2 separate regions of the Homo sapiens genome follow, and region 1 is linked to region 2. Evidence: promoter capture Hi-C in 16 types of primary human blood cells and fetal thymus (Javierre and others, 2016). All regions are on one chromosome and are shown on one strand. The core of a region is centred on a gene start or on the middle of the fragment in contact, and the rest is flanking DNA. Distances in the headings are between cores, read along the strand shown. Region 1 has its middle 6.3 kb from the start of CBX6. Region 2 holds the start of RPL3 (ribosomal protein L3).

Region 1 (3,485 bases), core at 730-3,229, 440 kb before region 2:
TCAACCCCAAAAAAGGCAACAACTGTCTTTCTTTTTTTTTTCTTTTCTTTTTTTGAAATGGAGTCTCGCTCTGTCGCCCCGGCTGGAGTGCAGTGGCGCGATCTCGGCTCACTGCAAGCTCTGTCTCCTGGGTTCATGCCATTCTCCTGCCTCAGCCTCCCGAGTAGCTGGGACTACAGGTGCCCACCACCACACTCGGCTAATTTTTTGTATTTTTAGTAGAGACGGGGTTTCACTGTGTTAGCCAGGATGGTCTCGATCTTCTGACCTCGTGATCTGCCCGCCTCGGCCTCCCAAAGTGCTGGGATTACAGATGTGAGCCACCGCACCCGGCCAACAACTTTCTTTTTGGCTTAGTGATTTGGGGGTCCTGAGACTTACCTTCCTTTCACCAAAAAAACCTGTAGTACAGCAAACAAAAATTTAGTAGCTTAAAACACAAGAATCTATTATCTCTCATGATTCTGTGTTTGACGGGCACTTTGGATGGTTCTCTTTCCTGCTCTTGTATAGGGTAACTGGTGTGGCCACGGTCAGAGACAAGGCCAAGGCTTGATGTGTACATCTGGAGTCATAGTACTGGATGCTGGCTGGGCCTCTCTCTCCTCGTGGTCTCTCATCATTCATAGTCTACTTCAAGCTTGCTTATGTGGTTCCAGGAGTCACACAAGAAGGTGAGAGACACACAAAGCTTCTTAAGGTCTTGCCTTGGAACTTACACAACATTGCTCCCTCTGCATTCTGTTGGTCAAAGCAAGTCACAAGGTATGGTGAGCAGATTTCAAGGCCACTAAGGTTCCTGCCTCCCCCAACCCAGTGTACATGTCCTGTATAATCCCCTCCCTTTGAGCATGAGAGGGACCTAAGGAACGTGTTGGGATTTTGCTCCCATGATTAGGTTATATTGAAAAAACAGGCCGGGTGTGGTGGTTCCTGCCTGTAATTCCAGCACTTTGGGAGGCCGAGGTGGGTAGATCACCTGAGGTCGGGAGTTTGAGACCAGCCTGGCCGATATGATGAAACCCCATCTCTACTAAAAATACAAAAATTAACTGGGCGTGGTAGTGGACACCTGTAATCCCAGCTACTGGGGAAGCTGAGGCAGGAGAATCACTTGAACCTGGGAGACGGAGGTTGCAGTGAGCCAAGATTGTGCCACTGCACTCCAGCCTGGGCAACAGAGCAACACTCTGTCTCAAAAACAAACAAACAAGGTTTTGTAGACATAATTAAGGTCCTTTAAGTTGACTTTGACTTATTCAAAAGGGAGTTTATCTTGGTCTGACCTAATCAGGCGAGCTCTTTGAAAGACAATCCAAGCCTCTCCCAAGAGGAAAGGTTGGAAGCAGTGGAATTGCGCTCCTGTTGACCTTGAAGAGGCAAGATGCCATGTTGTGGAGAGGGCCATGTGGCAGGAACGGTGGTGGGTGGTTTCCAGGAGCTGAGGACCTCAGTCCTACAATCACAAGGATCTGAATTCTGTGACTAGCCACTGAGCTTGGAGGAGAACTCTGAGTTTTCAGATGGGGATGTGGCGCCAGCTGACACCTGGATTGCAGCCTGTGAGACCCTGAGCAGAGACTTCAGTTAAGCTGTGCCTGGACTTCTGACCCACAGAAACTGAAATGATAAAGGGGTATTGCTTTAAGCAATCAGTGATAGAGCATAGCAAACTAATATATCAGGCCAGTCCAGATTCAGGAACAGGGAAAGAGACTCCATGCCTGGATGGGAGGAGTGGCAGGGTCACACTGAAAAGGGAACGCAGAGCTATTATTGTAATAATTTACCTCAAGGGTCCCTAGTTGGGACACAGCTCATGCTTAAAGCTGATGGGATCCCTGGGGCCAGACACTCCTTTCACAAAGGCACCTGCAGAATTCTGGGCATCTTACCTTTGTGACTTCTACCAGTTGGGTGTGGTTGGGACTCATGGGCTATGCCTCCATGTCCCTAGCATCAGACACATGTGGGTGCCTCATAAATATCTGTGGGACAAATCAAGGAATGAAGGTGCTGAACTGGGCTTTGCAGGGATGGGGAGTGAGGCCTTTGCCAAACAGAGTTTGTCTGCACCTGGGGCAAGGAGGGACTCAGGGATGGGAGGAGGTAGCTTTGTCCCAGGCTTCGACTGTCAGCCTGGCATGGTTGAGGCACAGAGTCTCTTAAGGCTGTGGACAGTGTCAGAATTGGGAAAGAGTACTTTAGCTCCAATCCCATTGAAGATCTATCCAAGTCCACTTTCCAGAATGGACTATCCCCTCCCTGATGCCAGAAGTCAGTGCCTTGAGCTTGGGACCACAGGCCACAGGCCTTCATTCTGTCCCTGATTTGAGGTCCTGGAGGGCTGGGGTGTGAGTTAGAATGTGGAGGGTGTGGCATCATCTGGACATTTAACTCAACACAGAGTCAACTCTGCACTTGTCTCCATCATTTAGAAAATGTAAAATGATTTTCTGCAGATGTCTTTATCACTATACACTGCACACTGCTGCAACTCAACCCCTTATGTGATTGTCTTAGTCACATGTAAGTGACTTATTAAGGAAGTGCTCCCAGGGGAGATTGCTAAGGGAATGAGTGAAGCAAGATAGGAAAGGGAAGGAAGCAAGCAGAGAGTAAGGTGTCGAGCTAAAGTCCTGCAGTGAGTGGCCCCAGCCTCACGCCTCAAGGGATCTGGAGAGTAAGTTATTCCTCAATATTTTCCCCCACCCACCAGACCCTGGTTACAGGCTGCAGGGCAAGGGTATTAGGTGGGGGGAATGTTGATCCCCCAGACACGTGCTGCTTTCTGCCTCTGTCTGCAAAGTGGCTTCAGTACCCTGGGGATGGCCTTTGGAAGGAGAGCTATAGATGCTGGCTGCTGGAGGAAAGGCACATGGGTGGGCTTGGGGGGACATAGAACAGGGACCCCTGGGGATCCGAGCAGGGAACAGATGTTACTGCGGAGGGATGAGACACAGCAGCTGAGTATGGTACTTTATAGGCTCTGCAAACTCCAAGCTGCTCCCACCCCAGGCCCTTGATCCTTGCTGTTCCCTCTACCTAGAACAGTCCCATCTTCTCCCAGGGGTGGCACGGTGGCTTCTTCAGTTCTTTCAATCTCTGCTCAGATGTTACCTCTTCAAAAAGATTTCCTCTGATGACCTTATGTAAAGGAGCCCCAACTCCTACCCACCACCCTCTCTCCCCATAGATGAGAAAGAAAAATAAAAACTCAGGACCCGAATTCACTATCTTCCGGACATGTCCTTGACCTTGGCAATATAAGCTTCTCAATTGATCGAGGCCTGTCTCAGACACTTTTTGGTTACAATGTCTATTTTTTCCCCTGGTCCTTAACACTATCTGGCGTTATAGGAATGGTTTGTTTAATATGACCATTTATTTAATGCCTGACTTCCTCACTAGACGCCAGGCTCCACAGTGGCAGGGACTTTGCCCATCTGGTTCCCACTTTTTCTCCAGTGCTAACACAGGGCCCT
Region 2 (3,104 bases), core at 322-2,821:
GCTTTCAGGTGAAAAAAACATGAATGAGGCAGTTCTTATGCCAGCCTCAGCAGCTCCAACCCCCCACACTAGTGTTAACTTCTCTTTGCTAAGGTTCCTGGCAAATTTACTATGCTCTGAAATCAATACCCCACACCGCACCTAAAGCAAACAGTGCTGACCATCTGTAGCCTTGGAATATTAGTTTTCAAGTTAAGCATTCCCATTCTGCTGTCGCAGCAGTTCTGACAACGTGTAACTCCTGCTTAAAAAAAAAAGTCTGCCCTCTGCTAACAGCTTGACTCCATCTCTACAATTTCCCTCCCCCTCCACTCCTATTCCCCCAACTTTTAGGATGTCTGTACATACTGGATCCCGGCCTGTCGACTTCCCGCACGATGTGAGTCATGCCAGCCTTGTATCCCAGGAAGGCTGTGAGGTGGACCGGCTTGGACGGGTCATCCTTAGGGAAGCTCTTCACCTTCCCACGATGCCTGCTGCTGCGCTTCCGAGGCAGGAAGCCGAGGGACCCATGTCTGGGAGCGGAGAACTTTCTGTGAGACTAGGTGGGAAAAAAATCACCGTCAGCACCCAAACCAAAGCAGTGCCCCCTTCTCTAGTTCCCAGCTGCTTAAGTTCCAAATCTCAGCAATACTGAAGAATCCTGACCAGACACCCAGCAAGCCGAATAAAAAGGTCATTATCTCTTCCAGGCTCGCACGTGTCAAGAATGCTTTTGTATTCGACAAAATTTAAGCTGAATCTTATTTCAAATCCTCTCAACCTGTAAGAAAACGACCCATTTTTTTTATCTAACCACACAAAAATACACTAAGTAGTGGCACTAAAAACTGCTTAACAGGCAGCTTTATATGCCAATTAGCAAGGTTTTGACCGCTAAAGAAAGGGACTCCCGGGACAAACGCTGGGTAGCAGCTAGCAATGTTAAGCTATAGGCTGCCTCCGGTGCCCGGACACTAATTACACTGATACACACAGGCCAAAGAACTCCGCAGAGCCAAATCAGAACGTGACAATCAGCACACAGTTTCTGTCCGCCCGTCAATAAGTTCATCATCTGTGGTTTCTGCGAGCTCCAGAGGCCTTCGGAGTGCACCAGCGGCCCCAGATATTCAGGAGGACTCCACAACACTCCCCTCCCCCAAGCTTCTTTACCTCCCAATGAGAACGGCGCCGAGAACCTCCACCCAAGGTCCTTCTACCCAGACAAGCAGGTTATGGGCCCTAATCCCAACTAATGATAGAATTGGTGAGGTCGAAACTTAGAAATGACTCATGGCTTTAAAAACGCCGGGCCTCCAAGCCTGCTCCCACCCTTACGGCCTCTCTCTGGCCGACCTGCAGGCCCAAAGCCAGTCCTCCAAGCGCTCTTCACAAGCCTCTCGACTTTCCAGAAAATAGGCCAGACTGAAGTCCCCGCTGGGTCGCCCGTGCCCCTAAAGCAAACCCCCGGCGCCGGCCAAGACGGGATGGCGGCGATGCGTCGCGGATTCAGCCGTGCCGACGCCGGTGACAATGAAACGGCCGCCATTACAACACATACCATCACGCCATCAAATCCCGCCGGTAGAGGCCGGTCGGCCTTACGGGTCCGCTATATAAAGCCAAATCTGGCCCCGCCCCTTCCGGCGTGCGAGCGCGCCCCCGCGGCAGACGACAGGTCGGGGGCACGTACCGAGCGCCATTTCCACGCACGCTCTTCCGCTCCTAGCTTTCGTTCAGAAGTTGACGTCAGCTTCGGAGACAGAAATTACACACTCTACGGCGAGGGGTCGGGTTCAAACTTAGTGAAAAGCCGCGGAGAGGTGGGCTAAGGGTGGGTGAGCCACAAATCTACGGCGTCCGGCAGCAGCCAAATTTGATAATAACGAAGAAAAATGGCTGCGTCGCTTCTCCTCCTGTGATATGCAGCTATCTCTGGAATTAGCGAAGAAAGACTGAAACTCTCGTTTCCTGGCTCCCACGCTGGTTTTGCGGCGACACCAATTTACCTTTAATACCTTTAATCTCGGGCATCCCTCCCTCAAGCCCTATCTCTGCCATTTCTCCCATGCTAATGCAGTGGCCCGCGCTTGATTCTGAGGGTCAGGAGCGTCCCAAGCCTGCGGAACGGCCTCACGACCTCTGGTCATGCCGAGTCCAGCTGCTCAGCCTCCCGGAGCCCCACGCCTTCCAGACCTATGCATCAGCGAGGGCTTTCGCTGATCTCTGCCTAGGCTCCAGGGTGACTCGGATCCTGACCGATTCCCTGCTTCCAGGCTGGTCCCTTACAAATCTCTTTTTTGAGACGGAGTCTCGCTCTGTCGCAGTGGCGCGATCTCAGCTCACTGCAAGCTCCGCCTACCGGTTCCCAGTTCAAGCAGTTCTCCTGCCTCAGCCTCCCGAGTAGCTGGGATTACAGGAATGCGCCACCATGCCTGGCTAATTTTTTTTTTTTTTTTTTTTGTATTTTTAGTGGAGACGGTGTTTCACCATGTTGGCCAGGCTGGTCTTGAACTCCTGATCTCGTGATCCGCCCGCCTCGGCCTCCCAAAGTGCTGGGATTACAGGTGTGAGCCACCGCGCCTGGCCCCCTACAAATCTTTCTAAGAATCAAGTATCTCGTTACTTTCCATGGCCGCCTCGTTGTTTCCTCGGAATTAAGCATCAACTTCAGCGGCCACCAAAGACGCTCCCCTAACCGTCTACTTCAGCCTCATGGCTGCGCCAGAGCACACGCTCTCATATCACCTGCTTCCTCTGTCCCACCCTGTCATCTTCTTTAATTCTGGGCCTGGCCTTTGCTCCCACCGTCGTTTGAAAAGCATTCTCTCGGCCAGGCGCGGTGGCTCACGCCTGTAATCCCAACACTTTGGGAGACCGAGGCGGGCGGATCACCTGAGGTCAGGAGTTCGAAACCAGCCTGGGCAACATGGCGAAACCCCGTCTCTATTAAAAATACAAAAATTAGCGGGGCACGATGGTGTGCGTCTGTAATCCCAGCTACTTGGGAGGCTGAGGCGGGAGAATCGTTTGAACCCGGGAGACGGAGTTTGCAGTGAGCTGAGATTGCGCCAGTGCAATCCAGCTCAAAAAAAAAAAAATTATCTCAATCCTCACACCAT

The links. The method cuts DNA at HindIII sites, captures the fragments that hold promoters and counts their contacts. A CHiCAGO score of 5 or more calls a contact.
Region 1: a contact is called between a fragment that was not itself captured here and the fragment with the promoter of RPL3 in region 2, in 9 of 17 cell types (total B cells, naive CD8 T cells, naive B cells and 6 more). The highest score is 8.4, in total B cells.

The regions. Positions count from the first base shown.
Region 1 is chr22:38,876,753-38,880,237 of GRCh38, forward strand. No RefSeq gene overlaps it. Among named protein-coding and RNA genes, the nearest start is that of CBX6, 6.3 kb to the left of the region's middle. The HindIII fragment of the contact is 2,580 bases long and covers 690-3,269 here.
Region 2 is chr22:39,318,052-39,321,155 of GRCh38, forward strand. RPL3 (ribosomal protein L3) reads right to left here and starts at 1,572. Exons shown (of 10, transcript NM_000967.4): 1 at 1,544-1,572; 2 at 349-541. The coding sequence starts at 1,546. SNORD43 (small nucleolar RNA, C/D box 43) reads right to left here and starts at 1,062; the gene lies at 1,001-1,062. RefSeq lists enhancers at 561-1,450, 1,317-1,366, 1,451-2,340, 1,757-2,176, 2,341-3,104. The HindIII fragment of the contact is 13,460 bases long and covers 1,145-3,104 here.